4 separate regions of the Homo sapiens genome follow, and all the other regions are linked to region 3. Evidence: promoter capture Hi-C in 16 types of primary human blood cells and fetal thymus (Javierre and others, 2016). All regions are on one chromosome and are shown on one strand. The core of a region is centred on a gene start or on the middle of the fragment in contact, and the rest is flanking DNA. Distances in the headings are between cores, read along the strand shown. Region 1 holds the start of TFAP4 (transcription factor AP-4). Region 2 holds the start of CORO7 (coronin 7). Region 3 holds the start of SEC14L5 (SEC14 like lipid binding 5). Region 4 holds the start of PAM16 (presequence translocase associated motor 16).

The links. The method cuts DNA at HindIII sites, captures the fragments that hold promoters and counts their contacts. A CHiCAGO score of 5 or more calls a contact.
Region 1: a contact is called between the fragment with the promoter of TFAP4 here and the fragment with the promoter of SEC14L5 in region 3, in 1 of 17 cell types (neutrophils). The highest score is 5.4, in neutrophils.
Region 2: a contact is called between the fragment with the promoter of CORO7 here and the fragment with the promoter of SEC14L5 in region 3, in 2 of 17 cell types (neutrophils and M2 macrophages). The highest score is 10.0, in neutrophils.
Region 4: the fragment with the promoter of PAM16 here is called in contact with the fragment with the promoter of SEC14L5 in region 3 in 3 of 17 cell types (neutrophils, fetal thymus and naive CD8 T cells); the score reaches 8.7 in neutrophils.

What each region holds. Positions count from the first base shown.
Region 1 is chr16:4,270,648-4,275,078 of GRCh38, forward strand. TFAP4 (transcription factor AP-4) reads right to left here and starts at 2,376. Exons shown (of 7, transcript NM_003223.3): 1 at 2,011-2,376. The coding sequence starts at 2,099. RefSeq lists enhancers at 593-1,569, 1,111-1,300, 2,201-2,250, 2,547-3,522 and silencers at 1,381-1,540, 1,901-1,950, 2,671-3,320. The HindIII fragment of the contact is 8,835 bases long and covers 962-4,431 here.
Region 2 is chr16:4,414,446-4,419,091 of GRCh38, forward strand. CORO7 (coronin 7) reads right to left here and starts at 2,151. Exons shown (of 28, transcript NM_024535.5): 1 at 2,014-2,151. The coding sequence starts at 2,073. It overlaps CORO7-PAM16 (CORO7-PAM16 readthrough), which reads right to left and starts at 2,151. Exons shown (of 31, transcript NM_001201479.2): 1 at 2,014-2,151. The coding sequence starts at 2,073. It overlaps LOC124903635 (a long non-coding RNA gene), which reads right to left. Exons shown (of 3, transcript XR_007064963.1): 3 at 2,280-2,516. The HindIII fragment of the contact is 33,533 bases long and covers 1-4,646 here.
Region 3 is chr16:4,954,943-4,959,958 of GRCh38, forward strand. It overlaps SEC14L5 (SEC14 like lipid binding 5), which reads left to right and starts at 3,388. Exons shown (of 16, transcript NM_014692.2): 1 at 3,388-3,503; 2 at 4,331-4,444. The coding sequence starts at 4,382. RefSeq lists silencers at 3,273-3,482, 3,281-3,576 and an enhancer at 3,380-3,915. The HindIII fragment of the contact is 6,723 bases long and covers 624-5,016 here.
Region 4 is chr16:4,348,673-4,353,058 of GRCh38, forward strand. It overlaps PAM16 (presequence translocase associated motor 16), which reads right to left and starts at 2,649. Exons shown (of 5, transcript NM_016069.11): 1 at 2,560-2,649. The coding sequence starts at 2,562. All of the region lies in intron 27 of CORO7-PAM16 (CORO7-PAM16 readthrough), which reads right to left. The HindIII fragment of the contact is 23,481 bases long and covers 1-4,386 here.

The DNA.
Region 1 (4,431 bases), core at 1,126-3,625, 690 kb before region 3:
CTACCCTGGGGGACTGCTGGTATGCTCCAAAGGAACGCTTGGGGCAGGGATAAATTGAAGCCAGAATCTCAGGGGGCCCTGAGAGGACTCACCCAAGGCCCAGGCATGGCAGCCAGAGGGCCCCCCAACCCTGCCCAGGATCAGGCCCAGAATGTCTTCTCCAGTAGGCACAGCGGCTCAACTGCACCTCCGCGCTGCCCAGCCCAGCCCTGCAGCAGCAGCAACCCCAGGACAAGGGTTCAAGTTCCAGTTCCACCACCTGCTGTAGTGGTCCCTTCTCCAGTCTCTGTGTCCGCCTCTTTAAGCGGAATCAAAAGACACTTTTGACTCATAGAAAGATTATGACAACTCAGTGAGAAAATTCTAGCAAAGTGAGTCCCCAGAACATAAAAAGAGCTCAAGAATTTTTTTTACTTATTATTACTGGGCCCTCCAGGTGGGCCTCGTGCAAGGGCCAGCCCTCGGGGCATCCCTGCCAGCTGCCAAACCCATCAACTGGCCCAAGTCTAGGTATTGACTGGGAACTTCAGAGTAGCCTTAAGGTGGGGACCCCCGGGGCAGAGGGTTGGGCAGGAGTGTCTACACGTGTGCAGCAACCTTCCCTCCAGGCCGGATTCTGCAGGCGCTAGCGTCCACCAGCCTGTGCCACACCGGCGGGCTCCTCCTCCCTCAATCCCCGCCCAGACTGCCTCGGGCGGCAGAGCACGTGGCTCCAGCCCTGGGGAGCCATTTCGCTCCTGGAGCAGCGCGGCAGGAAAGGGGCCACAGGTCCCAAACTTGCGCACGCCGTAGAACGCCCACCTCCCCCACACCACGCCCAGGGGGTCGTTCAAAATGCAGATGTCCGGGCCCCAGCGATCAGAGTTCCAGGCATGTGCATTTTAAGAAGTGTGCGGGGTGGTTTGGCTGTGTGTGGTCCTTGAGTCCATCACCCTTTGGGTTTAGAGCAACCTAGGACCAAAGCTTGCAAAGTGGCTTCTGGGGAGGCCTGCGGACCTCGGGCCACCCACCCGGCTGGGGGACCCGACGCTTTCGGTTTACGGCAGGGGGGAGGGGCGTTGGATGGGAAAGTTTGCAGAGGAAACCCACGTGCGGCGGGAAGCTGCCCTGCGAGGCTAGGGGCGGCCTCAGGTGTCCCTTCCCCAAATGGCCTGCCCACCTGGCCTGCCTTGCCCATCGTGCCCGCGGGGGCCGAGCTTTGTGCAGGGAAAGCGTGGCCCAGGAGCGCCTACAAATCCCACAATGCTGCACCAGCAGGACACGGAGAACTACAGCTCCCGCGAGGCCGCGCGCAGAGGTCCGCCTACTCCAAGAGGGCTGCAGAGTCACGTCCAGGCCTCGCTAGTAAACAGCGCCCGGGCGCGGGCGGGCGAGCGAGCGGCAGCCAACGTGCCCCGGGCCGCGGCGCCCCTACCGGCCGCGCGGGCCCCTCGGGGTCCGCCCACCCCCAACACCCACACGCGAGCACGCCCCCGACCCCGCTGCAGCCCCGCTCTGCAAACACGCACAGTGCCCGGCTCCCCGCCCCCACCCCGCGCCGGGAGCCGCGGCATGGCTGCATTGTAGCCGCCCTAGCTACACCCCCACGCGCGCCCCGGGCCCCCAGACCCCCTTGGATGGGGACGACCTCAGATCCCGAGGAAGGAAGGAGAGGAAGGAAGCCGCCGCAGGAGGGGGAAAGAGGAAGCGCGGGGGGGAAGGCCACCAGCACCAAGCATGGCCGGGACTGCTGCAGAACCACGTGGGTCTGTTTGCAATTTACAAACGTCGCGACTCGCCCGCCTGCAGCGGACAAAAGTGGCCGGGGCCGCTTGGGGCCCCCATGCTCCAAGGAAGGAGGGTCCCGGGGCGGCGCGGACCCGGCGTGTGGGGCTGCAGCCGTCCCGGCAGCTAAGAAAGGCTAGCGGGGTCGGCGGCGCGGGCCATGCGTGCGCACACGCGCGCCCGCCCGGGCGGGCTGGCCGGGGGCTGCAGTGGTAGGAAGGGGGTGGGGGGAGGAGGAGTACACACCTACAGAGCCCTCCTATCACTTCTTTCTCTGTTTTCCTGAAATGTTGCAAAGAGGGCACCTTCTGAGTGGGCACCATGAAATACTCCATAGCGATCGGCCCCCCTCCTCTGCACGAGCCAGGTCCCGCGATCAGCCGGAGAATGCAAGATGGAAATCCGAATCAAAGGGCAGCGCCGGACGGAGGTGCAGAATCGGCCGGTCCCAGATGCTGGCGGCGGCGGCGGCGGCGAGGGGAGGGAGGCGGGCGGGAGGGGCGGGAGGGAGGTCTCTCCGGCCTGCCTCCCCGGGCGTGTGTATGTGTGTGTGTGTGTGTGTGTGTGTGTGTGTGTGTGTGTGTGTGTGTGTTTGCAGCTGATCAGATGTCTGTTTCAAGGCGGGAAACAGCTGGTGAAAACTCAGCACTCCCCCGGCCTCCTTCCGCGGAGTAAGGAATTGCATGTAAACAAAGGACTATTTGCAGCGCCCCCCGGGCGGCGCGAGGCCGGGGCGAGAGGGGCGCGGGCCCCCGGGGACCGGCTGCAACCGGGGTCTGCAGGCCTCTCGCGGGGCGCAGGGGGCCGGGGGCCGCGGGCGGGCTTGCGGGGCGCGGCGTGAATGGAGCGAGCTGCGGCCGAGCTACATGCGCCACTATGGGTGATGAGGTCCATCAGCTGACAGGTTGGCAAGCGTTGCAAAAAAAAAAAAAAAAAGGCCAGCCACCGCGCAGGGAGCCCAGCCCGTGCAGCCCGGAGTCCAGCAGCGACTGGCCCAGAGCAGGGTCCGCGCGCTCGGCCGGCCCGCAGGGAGGAGGGGGCGCGGCTGGGTCGGGCGTGCAGCGGCAGCAAGGAAGGCGGCCTGGGGTTCGCGCTTGGGGCTTCTGCTTTTTCACCATTGCAGCTGCACGGAGCGGAGCCTCTCCGGTGTGCTCCCTTCGAGCCGAGCCCAGGGCCCCCTGGAAACTTGCGTCACAGCCACCGCTTCCCACATGTAACTCGGGGCTGACTTCGGAGGCCGGCCAGCTTCCTCCCTCCCGCCTTGCTTAGCTGGCCGCACGGCCGGGACTCCGGATCCTGGGAATCTTGGACCCGGCGACGGGACGGCAAAGGGCGCCTCGGATGCTGGGGCCGCCCTAGGAAGCCGGGGGCCCCGGCAGGGAGGGGAGGGTGGAGGCGGGCCTGAACGGCAGCGGCCCCCGGGCGCAGGCTGCCAGCGCTGCGGGGAGGTCTGCTGGTTGCTGCCGGGTCCCCTGCTATTCCCCCAGACCCGCACTGTTCCCTCCGCGGGCTGAAGGCTGCAGCTTCCCATTCATAACAAAGCCCGTGTGGGACTTGCCCCTCCGCCAGGATGCGCTCCCCAAGAGGGGGTGACGACTTGGGGCAGGGACGGGGACCCTGGCGGCGAGCTTCCGTCCTCCGCTCGCACGCCGCACCTTCCGGCCCCAGGCCCTCCCCTGGCTCCTGGAGGGTTGGCTCCTGGCTCAGGAAGCCCACGCCTGCCTTGGAATGTCCTGGATCCTGCCCACCGCCTTCCAGGTTCCGCCTAAATCGCGCCTCCTAATTTGACTTATTCCTACTAGTAACAATAGTTACTGTTATTATTGGGAAATATTGTTATTAGATGTTGCCAGCACCCGGTGGATGCCGAGCAGTTTTGCTTACACGCTCTCCAATCCTTGAAGCAACCTGTTAGGCAGTTTCTCTAAGGAGAGATCCCAGACCACTTGACCAAAAAAAAGTCTCTGGAAGGCTTACTATGTTTCTACTTAAAAAAAAAAAAAAAAAAAAAAAACTTTCGGCTGGGCGCGTTGGCTCACGCCTGTAATCTCAGCACTTTGGGAGGCTGAGGCGGGTGGATCACCTGAGGTCGGGAGTTCGAGACCAGCCTGACCAACATGGAGAAACCCCGTCTCTACTAAAAATGCAAAATTAGCCGGGGGCCTGGTGGCACATGCCTGTAATCTCAGCTACTCGGGAGGCTGAAGCAGGAGAATCGCTTGAACCCGGGAGGTGGAGGTTGCAGTGAGCCAAGATCATGTCATTGCACTCCAGCCTGGGCAACAAGAGTGAAACTCCGTCTCAAAAAAAAAAAAAAAAAAAAACCTTTTTACTGTTTTTCAACAAATAGAGATAGGAGTCTCACTGTGTTGCCCAGCCTGGTCTTGAACTCCTGGGACTCAAGGAATCCTACCTCTACCTCCCAAATTGCTGGGATTACAAGCATGAGCCATGGATGGCCCTGGTGGGAAGCCTATTTTTAACTGCCCTTAGTGAGCAAGCTATTCTTTTTTTTGTTTTGTTTTGTTTTGTTTTTTAAGACGGAGTCTTGCTTTGTCACCCAGGCTAGAGTGCAGTGGCACGATCTCGGCTCACTGCAACCTCCGCCTCCTGGGTTCAAGTGATTCTTCTGCCTCAGCCTCCCAAGTAGCTGTGGTTACAGGCACA
Region 2 (4,646 bases), core at 901-3,400, 540 kb before region 3:
CCTCGATGACAGGACACCCATGTTTCCCACTCCACCCACCCATAGCACCCCGGAAACCACCTCCACCACCTGAAGTTTCTATATCAGTGTTCACCTGCCATGGTTACAGCATCAGTCCCACCCTATTATTTCTCCCTCCTGATTCATGTTTACTGTATAAACACAGTGACTGCAAATATCTCTGAAAAGAACAGATCACCTGTTCTCCCGCCTCCCTAACATAAACTGTTTTAAGCTCTCCCTACAGTCTGTAGTTCCATGCCTATCTGTTTATGTTGCTGGACTAAGGCCCACCCAGGAGCAAGAATTAGGGCCCCTCAAGTATTCTCCAGACCCCTCCAAGCAGTACTTAACTGCACTCAGAGCCACCGGCTGTCTTGATGCAAACCTAGGTACCTCCTCCTAACTTTTCTTGTTTGTTTTTTTCTTTTTTTGAGACAGTGTCTCACTCTATTGCCCAGGCTGGTGTGTAGTGGCACAATCTCGGCTCACTGCAACCTCCACTTCCTCGGCTCAAGAGATCCTCCAACCTCAGCCTCCCAAGTAGCTGGGACCACGGGAGTGAGTCACCACACCTGGCTAATTTTTTTTTCTTTAACTTGTTGTTCAGAGGGGTTTCGCAATGTTGCCCAGGCTGGTCTCGAACTCCTGAGCTCAAAGCAGTCCACCCAAAGTACTGGGATTACCGTGAGTCATGGTATCCAGCCCCTCCCCCTAACTTTTCAATGGCTCTGCACTGCAATCAGAATAAAACCCAACTTCTTCCGGTGGCCCTTGGGTTCTGCAGGACCACTCTGGACTCATCTGTCACCATACTGCTCCGGCCATCCCCTCCATCCACTCATGCTCACTTTCCATTTCTCCACCAGGCTCTTTCTCAATTCTCACCCTTCTGGCCTCAGCTAAAATGCCATCTACTCCAGGCAGCCTTTCCTGACCACGCTACTGAGACTGGCCCCCTCCATTCTCCATCCCAGTCCCTCATGTGTGTTCTTCAATGTCGTTATGAAAACCTCCAATGCTCTTGTTTGTCTGCTTGCTGTCTCCCTCATGAGGCTACAAGTGCCACAGGGGAAGGAAAATGCCGTTGTGTTCACCGGGATGTCTCCAGCAGCTTAGCACAGCATAAAGTGGAAGCAGAGGAAATATAGTCCACACTACAAAAACGGAACCTCTACCCAGACTGCCCTGACTTGCTCTGGGACCCTGATGGGGTCACTTGAGGTCAACTCCTAGGCCCAGTTATCGGAGGACACTCCCAGGCCTTACAAATAACACGGAAAGCGGAAGAGCAGAGCTGACATCGTTTCCAAGGCGCACCCCTCATCAGTCCTCCTGCCGTTTCGGGGGTCCGAAGGGTCTCCCGGCACCTGGCTCAGCAATTCTTTGGGGCTCCACCTGCTCAGGCTTCCCCAGGCCCCACCCAGCCGTGGCAGCATCACCGAGATAAAGAAAGAGCTTGCGCCAGCGGCGAGAGGAGGAAGCACCGGCGGAAACCCGAGGGAGGGGCGCGTGCGGCCGAGGGGCTCCCTCCCCACCACTGACACACTTGGGCTCGCCGGGGCCAGAGGAGAGAGGGGCGTCTCCCCACAGCCCAGCCAGGGGCAGGGGCGACCCGGGGCGGCAGGGAGGAGGAGCCAGGCGCCGGCAGCGCCCCGAGCCCCGGCTCCCGGCGAGGCCGACCGGAAGCTGGGAAGGCAGGCGGCCTCGCAGGCCTGGGCCCCGGCTAGGAGGGCTGCGCCGCCTCGGGGGTCCCGGGGCGAGGTGGGCGAGGCGGGCAGACCGCCAGGGTCACCGAGCGCCAGAGCGAGTCACGGGAGTGCCGGACTCTGCCCTCCGGCGGCGACGAAACGGCCCGGACGCCGGGGCCCTGGCCTGAAGGGGGGTTCCCCGGGGATGGAGGTCTCGGGGTTCCAGACGGCCCTGGAGGGCACCCCTGTGGGGTCCGGGCAGGGGGAGGGGCAGCCGGACGGGGCCCGAGGCGACAGCGCCCGGTCCTCGGGCCGGACTCACCTCGCGGCGGGGCGGCCGAGCCTCGGTGTGCCGGAACTTGGACACCCTGAAGCGGTTCATGGCGACGGGCACGGCGGCGGACGCGTCTTCGAGGACCCCGGGCGTCGGGTCTCAGGTGCACGCTGAGCAACCGCGACTCCCGCTGCCTCGGCCCCACCCGGGACCCAATGCCGCGGTCACGCCCCCGGCGCGCCCCACTGCCAATCGCAGCCGTCTCCGGCCCCCTGGGCCACGCCCCCAAGCCCCTCTCCTTTCGCGCGCGCACCACCGGTCCCGCCTCCCGGCCAATCCAGGTACGGCCGCCCCGCGAGGCCACGCCCTGATACCGAGGGGACGGACTGGCGCGGGTGGGAGGTCACGTGGGGCGCAGCTGTCAGCCCACGTCTCCTGCGGTGCTTGCTTGCGTGGGGTCTCGGCTGCAGCATTCGCGATTTTGTGTGCAGGATTTGCTGTGGAGTCTTTGCGGTGTACCTAGCACGCCTTCCAGCACTATCTACCTCTTCCTGTAGAGAGGGGAGAAATTAGCTCCATTTCAGAGACAGGAAACCCCCGGCTAAAGGAGAGTGTAAACTGTCGGTCCCCAGGTCACACCAGTGGTAAGAGGCAGAGGGGGAACAGGGGCCCAGGTCTAAAGCAAATCCCTGTCCACCGGGCCTACTCAAAAGCCTCTGCATCCGGCCAGGCGCTCTGCATCCGGCCAGGCGCGGTGGCTCAGGTCTGTAATCCCGAACTTTGGGAGACTGAGGCAGGAGTATCCCTTGAGCCCAAGAGGTCGAGGCTGCAGTTATCTGTGACCGTGCCACTGCACTCCAGCCTGGGAGACAGAAAGAGACCCTGCCTCTAAAAATAATAATAATAATAGCTTTTAATTTTTCTTTAGTATTTATTCATTTATTTGACACGGAGTCCCTGTCACCCAGGCTGGAGTGCAGTGGCGCGATCTCAGCTCACTGCACCCTCTGCCTCGCGGGTTCAAGCAATTCTCTTGCCTCAGCCTCCCGAATAGCTGGGATTACAGGCGCCTGCCACCGCGCCCAACTAATTTTTTATTTTTAGTAAGAGACGGGGTTTCACCATGATGGTCAGGCTGGTCTCGAACGAGACTCAAGCAGTCCTCCCAACTTGGCCTGCCAAAGTGTGGGGATTATAGGAATGAGCCAACGCACCCAGCTGATTCTTGCATTTCTAAGGTTTGAAAAGCAATGCTTACATTTTATCTTAGTTCGGGCAGAAGTGTATTTACTGTGAACCAAAGTCACTTGTGGTTTATTGAAAAGGCTTTTTGTTTGTTTGTTTTGAGACAGAGTCTCACTCTGTTGCCCAGGCTGGAGTGCAGTGGTGTCATCTCAGCTCACTGCAACCTCCACCTCCTGAGTTCAAGCGATTCTCCTGCTTCAGCCTCCCAAGCAGCTGGGATTACAGGTGTGCGCCACTACTCCTAATTTTTGTATTTTTAGTAGAGATGGGATTTTGCCATGTTGGCCAGGCTGGTCTCAAACTCCTGACCTCAAGTGATCCACCTGCCTCAGCCTCCCAAAGTGCTGGGATTAGAGGCATAAGCCACTGCGCCCAGTCCAAAAAGGTTTTTAGAAAATCATCAGGTTGGCCGGGCGCGGTAGCTCACGCCTGTAATCCCAGCACTTTGGGAGGCCAAGGTGGGTGGATCACCAGGTCAGGAGTTCAAGACCAGCCTGGCCAAGATGGTGAAACCCTGTCTGTCCTAAAAATATAAAAATTAGCTGGGCGTGGTGGTGGGTGCTTGTAATCCCAGCTACTTGGGAGGCTGAGGCAGAGAACTGCTTGAACCCGGGAGGCGGAGGTTGCAGTGAGTCGAGATCGTGCCATTGAACTCCAGCTTGGGTGACAGGGCGAGACTCTGTCTCAAAAAAAAAAAAAAAAAGAAAAAAAAAGAAAATCATCAAGTGGCTGGGCATGGTGGCTCACGCCTATAATCCCAGCACTTTGGGAGGCCGAGGTGGGTGGATCACCTGAGGTCAGGAGTTCAAGACCAGCCTGGCCACCATGGTGAAACCCCGTCTCTACTAAAAATACAAGGCGTGGTGGCAGGTGCCTGTAATCCCAGCTACTCGGGAGGCTGTGGCAGGAGAATCACTTGAACCCGGGAGGTGGAGGTTGCAATGAGCCGAGATCATGCCATTGCACTCCAGTATGGGAGACAAAAGCGAGATTTTGTCTCAAAAAAAAAAAGAAAGAAAGAAAATCATCAGGACAGTGGTCCCACTGGATCCTAGGCGACCGAGGCACAGCTCATCATCCCCTTTCATAGGGAACTGCACCTGCTACAGACATCACAGACCAGAACATCTGGACCACACATTCCTCACCCACTTGGAATTGTCCTATACTCTGTGTGAAGTAAAGAAAATGCTATACTTAAGACAAATCATGCCCCTGAAGAGCTGGGCTCAGGCTCTTCTGCCCTCTGTAAAAGATCTCTGAGCTCACATGGGAGAGTTGCAGCCATTGGCAGCCATGAACTTGGCCAGTCCCATTATACTTCAAATGATCAGTGGTTTCAGCAAGAAATCACAGAGACCGTCTTGTCTCCCATTGCCTTCAGCCCAGCACTGTCGGGGAGCACCATTAAACCCCTTCGCAGCTCTCACAGATAT
Region 3 (5,016 bases), core at 2,138-4,637:
TTGAATCTTCTCTGGCAGTGGCCCATCTGCTGGGAAGACATTCAGAGACATGAGGTGGTTTCTGGGGTTCCCAAAACCCACCTCCACAAAAGGCAGCATTGGCTGGGTCATTCTTGCAGGGCAGGTGGGAAGCAGCAGATAGAGGCTAAAGATCCTGCCCTGGGACTGAGTTCATGCCCAGCACCCCTGGGGAATCAGCCTATCCTTGCAGCGCCTTCTTGTCCTGGAGCCAGGGTGCCTGGAGATCTTGCAGTTCAGGGCTTGGAAATCACATCTTCCCGGAGCATCAGCTGCAGCTCTAGGAGAAGAAGTCATTGGAGAACGAGAGTCCTGGGTATGAGTTCCTTACTAGCTGTGTGGCCTTGGGCAAGTTATTCAGTCTCTCTGTGCCTTGTGCCTTAGTTTCCCTACGTGTAAGATGAGGATTAAAATAGTTTTGACTGTATATGGGCTTTTAATTGAGATGAAAGCCACGTAACAGAAAATTAATCATTTTAATATTGTGGCCCCAATTCAGTGGCATGTGCATTTGCAACGTTGTGCAACCACCACCTCTATCACATTCCAAGACATTTTCATTGCTCTGGGGTTGCTTTGAGGATTAAATGCATTCGTGTTTGTAAAGCTTTAGAATGGTGCTAGGTATAGTAAGCGCCAATGGAGTGTCAACAAGTGGTAGGAATAATTAGTAGAACAGTAATAATAGGCAACTGGGCCAGGTGTGGTGGCTCATGTCTGTAATCCCAGCACTTTGGGTGGCTGAGGCGGGTGGATCACCTGAGGTCAGGAGTTTGAGGCCAGCCTGGCCAACATGATGAAACCTGTCTCTACTGAAAATACAAAAATTAGCCAGGTGTGGTGGCAAGCGCCTGTAATCCCAGCTACTCGGGAGGCTGAGGCAGGAGAATTGCTTGAACCTGGGAGGCGGAGGTTGTAGTGAGCCGAGACTGCGCCACTGCACTCCAGCCTGGGCAACAGAGCAAGACTCCACGTAAAAAAAAAACCCCAAAACCCAAAAAAAGCTGGAGTGAGTGTTGGTGGCGTTATTAATTCCCTTCCCTGGGGCTGGAGGAGGAGGGAGTGGGGTTCTCACTCCCCTCCAGGCCCCAGTTTCCACTTTGAGCTCTCTGTACCCGCAGGGCTGTCACACCTCTGTCTCCCACGCAGTCATTGTCCTCCCTCAATGTTGGGCAGCAGGAGAGGCGGACTTAACGCCTTTCGTGGTGGTAACAGCAGCTAACGGTGTTAACGTTCACTTTGCTCTGTGGCGATGCCTGGGCAGAGCTGGGCATTTCCTGGATGAGCCCGGGTTAGGACAGTCATCCCTGGATCCCATGTCCCCCACCTACTCACCCTTGTGTTACTCCAGGAGCCATGGGCTATCATTTGCTGCCACCTTGCGACAGGGATGGGAACTTTGTGTCCCATTTCCGCCCTTGATTACCTAAGCCAAGAGTCTGCTGGGCACCTGCTGCCTGCCTGCCAGGTCCCCAGTAAGATCCTTCCCAACATGCGGGCAGCTGAATAAGGCAGCCACTGCCCCTGCCCTCAGGGAGCTCACAGTCTCCTGAGAGAGACCTCCAGGAACCCACAGATATATAAAACGAATAAATGCAATATTAGAATGTGATGCAGGCTAGGAAGGGAAGAGAGGTGATTTTCACAGGGTGCAGTGACATACTTGAAATATATCAGGGGTTGTCCATCTCCCTGGCCACCTCTGACTTCCCCTGCTTGAAGGGGTGAATTCACCCCACGGTGGCACGTAGTAGGTGCTCAGTAAATGTTGAATGAGTGAATACATGGATGACAGCACTGTCCAGAGCCAATTTCTTGGGTCTTGTAGGCTAAACAGATGAGGAGTGGCAAGGCAGGACTTCTGGGAGCAAGGTTGGTCCCCTGGGAGTCCTGGGAGGGCTGAAAGGGGTTAAGTGTGAGTTAAAATGAGAGTGATGGACAAATGTCACTCTCCCAAGGGAGGCCCCCTTACTCCCTGTTTTATTTATTTATTTACTTATTTATTTTGAGACCGAGTCTTGCTTTGTTGCCCAGGCTGGAGTGCAGTGGCCAGGTAACAGCTCACTGCAGCTTTGAACTTCTGGGCTCAAGGGATCCTCCTGCCTCAGCCTCTTGAGTAGCTGGGACCACAGGCACGTGCCAACACGCCTGGCTAATTTTTTTTTTTTTTTTTTGCGACGGAGCTTTGTTCTTCTTGCCCAGGCTGGAGTGCAGTGGCGCAGTCTCGGCTCACTGCAACCTCCGCCTCCTTGATTCAAGCGATTCTCCTGCCTCAGCCTCCCGAGTAGCTGAGATTACAGGTATACGCCACCATGCCCGGCTAATTTTGTATTTTAGTAGAGACGGGGTTTCCTCATATTGGCCATGCTGTTCTCGAACTCCTGACCTCAGCTGATCTGCCTGCCTTGGCCTCTCAGTGTGCTGGGATTACAGGCGTGAGCCACCGCGCCCTGCCTAAACTAAAAAAAAATTTTTTTGTAGAGATAGGTTCTTGCTATGTTACCCAGGGTGGTCTCCAACTCCTGGGTTCAAGCGGTCCTCCCGCTTCCGCCTCCTAAAGTGTTTGGATTACAGGCGTGAGACATGGCGCCCGGCCTCTTACCTGTTTTAAATTGTCCTTTCTCTCCGCTGGCTCCTTGAGCCCCTTTCCTGCTTATTTTTCTCTCGTTAGAGTTTTTCACTACCTCACACATCATATATTTGCCTTATTTATTGAGTGTCTGTCTCCCCACCGTAGTATAAACTCCACGAGGGCAGGGATTCGTGCGTGTGGCTCACCGGCGGCTCTCCAGCGCCTGGACAGGGCTGACCCCCAGCAGGCGCTCTGTGAAGGTGTGCAGAGTGGGCGAAGGTGCATGCGCGGGCCGTGGGGCGGGGACAGGTGGAGGAGCCAGTCAGACCCAAGTGCAGCGGGACGAGGGCGAGGTTAATCTGAGCAAGAAAAGCGTAAATTCTGCTTATCTACAAATGTAAACAGTACTGTCGGCCAGACGCAGGGTCCGGGGCGGGTCGGCCCGGACTCAGGGTCTGCTTGGAGGCAGAGCTAGATTAGGGCGGGGTCGTCCTGTGGCCTACCATTCCCCGAGGCTGAGGGCCTTGGAGGGCGGGGCCAGTGAAGGGGGAGGGGACTTCCTGAGGTGTGACCAATCTAGAGAAAGGACTGGGCTGAGGGCGTGGTCAAACAAGCGACATCTAAAAATAAGGGGCGGGGCTAGAACCAGGGGGAGTTCGCCTGGGGCGGGGCCAGAGTGGGGCGGGACCAGTTAGGGGGCAGGGCCAACCTGGGCGGGGCCATGGCCGGGGACGTGGGCGGGACCAGGTCAGGGGCGGGGCCAGGCCAGGATCTCCGCTGTCCCGGGTCCTGGAGCTCTCTCGGCCCGGCAGGTTTCGCTCCCGCCCCTCCGGCCTTCCACAGCTGTCCTGGCCGCAGGGTGTTCAAGGCGGGACACACCAGGCTAGAGATCCGCGATCGGGCCCCGCCTCAGGTACTGCGCTCCAGGCCAGGCGGGCGCGGGTAAGCGCTCAGCTCCCGAGCCAGGCGGGCTTCCAGGGCACTTCCCCTAGGCTGCATTCCCAAAGGCTCCCGAGGGCGAGGGTGAGCAAAGCTGCGGGGACCTGTGTGTGCATGCGTGTGCGATTGCCTCTACGTGTGTGTACGTGTGTGTGCATGTGCGCACGGGTGTGTGTGCGTGTGTGCACGTCTGTGCACACCAGGGGAATTGCGTGCGTGGAGCTGGGCAGGTGCGTGTTTCAGGGTGTGTGTGCAAAGTTGGAGGCGTGTGCAAAAGCAGTCCCGTGTGGGAGGGAAACCTGCGTGTGTACATGTGTGTGATAGAGACAGTGCCTGTGAAATGTGGTGAAGGCTGTGTGTGTATGTCAGGGTGTCTGGGAGGAAAATGGGAGGGCAGGTGCAAGGAGACTCGGGGGTGGGCTGTAGGCCAGCAAGTCTGTGGCAAGCTGCGGGGTGCATGCGTGAATAGAACCGTGGGAGTGTAAGAATTGCAAATGTGTGTGTGTCTGTGTGGGTGGCCGTAAGGCTTCTGGGGGCCCTCAGTGTGAAGGGGTGGGGGTAGAGGAAAGTTTGGGGGTGCTGACTGCTCTTGGAAGGCTGAGCGTGGTCTGGGGCCATGGCTAATGACAGGGAAGCTGTTGGGGCTTGGCCTGGAGTAATTTGGGGGGAATATCAGCCTTCTCAATTTGAAGGCTGGGGAGCTGTGTGGGTGGGGCCAGGGGCTGCCCCTTACACTTGGTGGGTGGTGTCCCTGCTTCCCGAGGTGGGAGCTGCAACCTCACCAGTCACTCCTCGCCCCAGGCTCTGTGCACACCCCTGCCTGGTGACCTCCATTGGTGCTCCAGCGTGAACATGGTGCAAAGATACCAGTCTCCTGTCCGAGTCTACAAGTACCCGTTTGAGCTGGTCATGGCGGTGAGTGACTCCTGATTCTTGGGCCCCCATGTGACAGTTGGAGGGGCTTGAGATCAGCTATGGCGGTAGGAAGACGGAGCTCCTTAGACTCCCAGATCAGAAGGAATTAGTGAGTTACTCAGCTGACCTGGTGGGTTTAACTTCTATCCAGTGACCTCTCTGTCCAACCATCCTATCCTCGGCCCAGTGACCAAAACACAAAGTCTTTCTTCCTTCTCCTTGTTGAAGCTGACCTGCTCCCTTACTTTAGACTCTCCTGATAGAAAACAAAGGTATCAGGGGCCAAGCCACTGCTGTCATTTCATATAATGGCATATCACAGTGATAAATGGAATGGTGGTGATAATGACAACAGCTGTTTATTGAATGTTTACAGCACTGTCTTAACAGATGATGTTTCTTCCAATTCCCGATAGCTGTTATTTTCCCATGTAACCTCCATGAAACTGAGGCTTTGACAGGTGAAGGGATGACACTAAGTTCTGTATCTACGCAGAGGTGGAGTCGGGGCTGAGATCCCCACAAAGGAGACTCTAGAACCTCACATTTGACCACAGAGCCCTCCTTCTGCT
Region 4 (4,386 bases), core at 1,399-3,898, 610 kb before region 3:
GGAGATGGAGTCTTGCTCTGTCGCCCAGGCCGGAGTGCAGTAGTGCGATCTCGGCTCACTGCAGCCTCTGCCTCCCGGGTTCAAGAAATTCTTCTGCCTCAGCCTCCTGAGTAGCTGGGACTACAGGCACACGCTGCCATGCCCGGCTAATTTTTTGTATTTTTAGTACAGAGAGGGTTTCACCGTGTTGCCCAGGCTGGTCTCGAACCCCTGAGCTCAGGTAATCCACCCAAAGTGCTGGGATTACAGGCGTGAGCCACCGTACCCGGCCTAGCACTTTCTTTTTTTTTTTTTTTTTTTGAGACGGAGTCTTGCTCTGTCACCCAGGCCGGAGTGCAGTAGCGCGACCTTCGGCTCACTGCAAGCTCGGCCTCCCGGGTTCAAGCCATTCTCCTGCCTCAGCCTCCTGAGTAGCTGGGACTACAGGTGCCTGCCACCACACCCGGCTAATTTTTTGTATTTTTAGTAGAGACGGGGTTTCACCATGTTAGCCAGGATGGTCTTGATCTCCTGACCTCGTGATCCACCCGCCTGAGACCCCCAAAGTGCTGGGATTACAGGTGTGAGCCACCGTGCCCGGCCAGCACTTTCTTTTCCTGTTAATATACTGTCATGCTGGGTGCGGTGGCTCACGCCTATAATCCCAGCACTTTGGGAGTCCGAGGCAGGAGGACTGCTTGGGCCCAGAAGTTTGAGACCAGCCTGGCAACATGGCGAAACTGCATCTCTACAAAAAATACAAAAAATTAGCTGGGCATAGTGGAGCATGCCTGTTGTCCCAACTACCCGGGAGGCTGAGGCTACTGGGGAGGATGAAATGGGAGGATCACCTAAGCCCCAGGAGGTTGAGGCTGCAGTGAGCTGTGATCGTACCACTGTACTCCAGCCTAGGAGACCCATCTGGGGCAACACAGCAAGACCCCACCTCTACATAAAATTTAAAAATTAGCCAGGTGTGCTGGCACTCACCTGTAGGCCCAACTACTTGGGGGTCTAAGGTAGGAGGATGGCTTGAGCCTAGGAGTTCAAGGCTGCAGTGAGCTAGGATCGCTCCACTGCATCCTAGCCGGGGCGACAGACAGACATCCTATCTCAAAAAACAAACCAAAAAAACCCCATGAGTTTTGGGACAGAGCTGGGCTCAAAAGAGGTCTCTGACACCATGGGATGCATGACTATGGTGGAGTCAAAACTGTCTGGGGCTCAGGTTCCTTATCTGTAAAATAAGGACAATGACAGCAGGACTTCATAAACACTAAATGAGAGACTCTACATAAAGCCTTAGCTCAGGGGCTGGCACTTGTACGCCGTTAGCTGTTACATTATCCTTATTACTATGTTAGTTAAGAAGTGGCTCCCCGAACCAGCTGCAACAGAGTCACTTGGGGAACTTACGTGTGCAGAACCTCCAGGGATAGAGCTCAAGAACCTGAACTTTTTTTTTCCCCCTCTTTTTCTTTTTGAGAGAGTTTTGCCCTGTCGCCCAGACTGGAGTGCAGTGGCACAATCTTGGTTCACTGCAGCCTCTGCCTCCTGGGTTCAAGCGATACTGGCGCCTCAACTTCCCAAGCAGCTGGGATTACAGGTGTGTGCCACCATGCCTGGCTAACATATGTATATATTATGTGTGTGTGTGTGTATATATATATATAAAATACATGATATATAAAAATATATATAACATAATAATATGTAGTATACATAAATGTATACGGTATATATAATACATATATATAATTTTTTTTTTGAGACGCAGTCTCACCCTGTCGCCCAGGCTAGAGTGCACTGGCGGATCTCGGCTCATTGCAACCTCTGTCTCGCGGGTTCAAGCGTCTGTCCTGCCTCAGCCTCCCGGGTAGCTTGGACTACAGGCGCGCACCACCCCACCCGGCTAATTTTTTAAATTTTTTGGTGGAGACCGGGTTTCATCATGTTGGCCAGGCTGGTCTCGAACTCCTGACCTCGTGATCCGCCGCCTCGGCCTCCCAGAGTGCTGGGATTACAGGCGTGAGCCACCGCGCCCAGCCAAACCTGCACTTTTAAAGCTACCCTAGGTGACCTGACAGTGTGGCGCAGGTCTGTTGACTGGCTCTACGTGCCAACGATATCACACAAACGCTCCGTGCTCGGTGTCTCGGGGCCTAGTTCAAGTCCCAGGTCAGCCACTTCCCTGGAAAGGCCAGCTTTCCACTGGGGATAACAACAGGGCAGCAACATCGACTCTGCAGCGCTGTAAGGTTCCAGGGCAGGGGAGGCGCTCACCAGCCAGACTCATGCTCCACCGCTGCCCACGGCTGCTCGCTCACACGCGGGCTAGGCACAGCGCGACCACGTTTGCCCGGCCTCTTCCAGGCAGACGGTTTTCCCTGGCCCTGAGGCCGCCGGTGCCGCCGCTGCCGGCCTCGATTCCCCCGGGTGCAACGCCCCCAGACCATGCTTCCCGCCGGGCACGCAGGGGGCGCACGGCGCCCGCCGCCCAGCCCGGAGCTCGCCGCCCGGCCCCCGGCCCCCGGCCCGACTCGGCTTCCCCTCCCCGGTAGCGCCCGACTCGGGGCTCACCATGGCAGCCGCTCTGCCTCCGGGGCTCAAACTCCGACTTCCTGGCCCCGCGGCCGGGGATCAAGCGTGGTCGGCGGGTCAGAGGTCAAGGAAAGCCGCAGAGAGCGCGTGCGCGATACGGCGCTGGGCATGCGCATTGCCTCAGTCTAAGGGCGGGCCACCGGGAGCGTCTTAGCGGCTCGGGGCGGGGTCGGAGGCGGGGTTTGACTGAGCCTGCGTCGGGCTCTGGATAACTGGGGGCGGGCTTGGGAGGGCAAGGGGCGTTACCGGGAGTCTCAATTGCCCGCGTGCTTACCCCAGTGCGCTGGAGCAGCTAAGCACATCGGTCAGACGTGGGGCGATTTCTGCCCTTGATTTTGCCAAAATATTTGGGAATGCAACATTATATGAAATCAATGAACATAATATGGAGTAGGATGCTAAATTCTCAAAAATACTTTAGAAAATAGAAAACTTCAAAATAGGTTTCATCCACATTCCTCCTGCCTGAGAAGCTCGTTCCCTTCTTCAAATCTTTGCTCAAATGTCACCTCAATGAGGCCCACCTGGACCCCTTAAAACGCCGTGACTTGCCCTCCATGAATGAAAAAAGTAACAGCTTTATTGAGATATAATCCATACACTGTAGATTTCATGATTTTCAAGTGCACAGTCCAATGCCTTTTATTCACAGAGCTGTGCCACTGTCACCACTATTAGTTCCAGAACGTTTTCATCACCCATTAGTCACTCCCCAGCCCCCTCCCCCAGCCCCTGTCAACCACTCATTTTTCTCTCTATGGATTCACAGGTTCCGGACATTTCATAGAAATGGAATCATACAAGCCAGGCGTGGTGGCTCATGCCTGCAATCTCAAAACTTTGGGAGGCCGAGGTGGATCGCTTGAGGTCAGGAACTCAAGGCCAGGCTGGGCAACATGGTGAAACCCCATCTCTACAAATACAAAAATTAGCCGGGTGTGGTGGCAGGTGCCTGTAATCCCAGCTACTTGGGAGGCTGAGTGGTGGATCTCTTGAGCCCGGGAGGTACAGGCTGCAGTGAGCTGTGATCACTGCACTCCAGCCTGGGTGACAGAGTCAGGCCCTGCCTCAAAAAAAAAAAAAAAAAAAAAAAAGGTAAAAATGAAAAATGAAAAAAAAGAAGAAATTGAATCATACAATGTGCAGCCTTTTGTGACTGGCTTATCCTCCCTTCTTGTCTCTATTTTTCTTCCAAGACTCTGATCACCCTCTACCATACCACATAATTTACTTATTTATTTTATTTATCATTTTGAGACAGGGTCTCACCCTGTCGCCCAGGCTGGAGTCCAGTGGCACAATCCTGCCTCACTGCAACCTCCACCTCCCAGGTTCAGGCGATGCTCATGCTTTAGCCTCCTGAGTAGCTGGGATTACAGGCATGGACCACCATGCCCCATTAATTTTTGAATTTTTAGTAGAGACAGGGTTTCACCATGTTGGCCAGGCTGGTCTTGAACTACTGGTCTCAAATGATCCACCCGCCACAGCCTCCCAAAGTGCTGGGATTATAGGCATGTGACACTGTGCCCAACCGGTTTTTTATTTTTAAATTATTTTTCCTTTTTTTTTTTTTTTTGAGATGAAGTCTTGCTCTGTCACCCAGGCTGGAGAGCAGTGGCCCAATCTTGGCTCACTGCGATCTCCACCTCCTGGGTTCAAGTGATCCTCCCACTTCAGCCTCCGAAAGTGCTGGGATTACAGGTGTAAGCCACCGTGCCCAGCCAAAAAAAAATTTTTTTTTTTCAAGATAGGGTCTCACTCTGTTGCCCAGGCTGCAGTACAGTAGCATGATCATGGCTCACT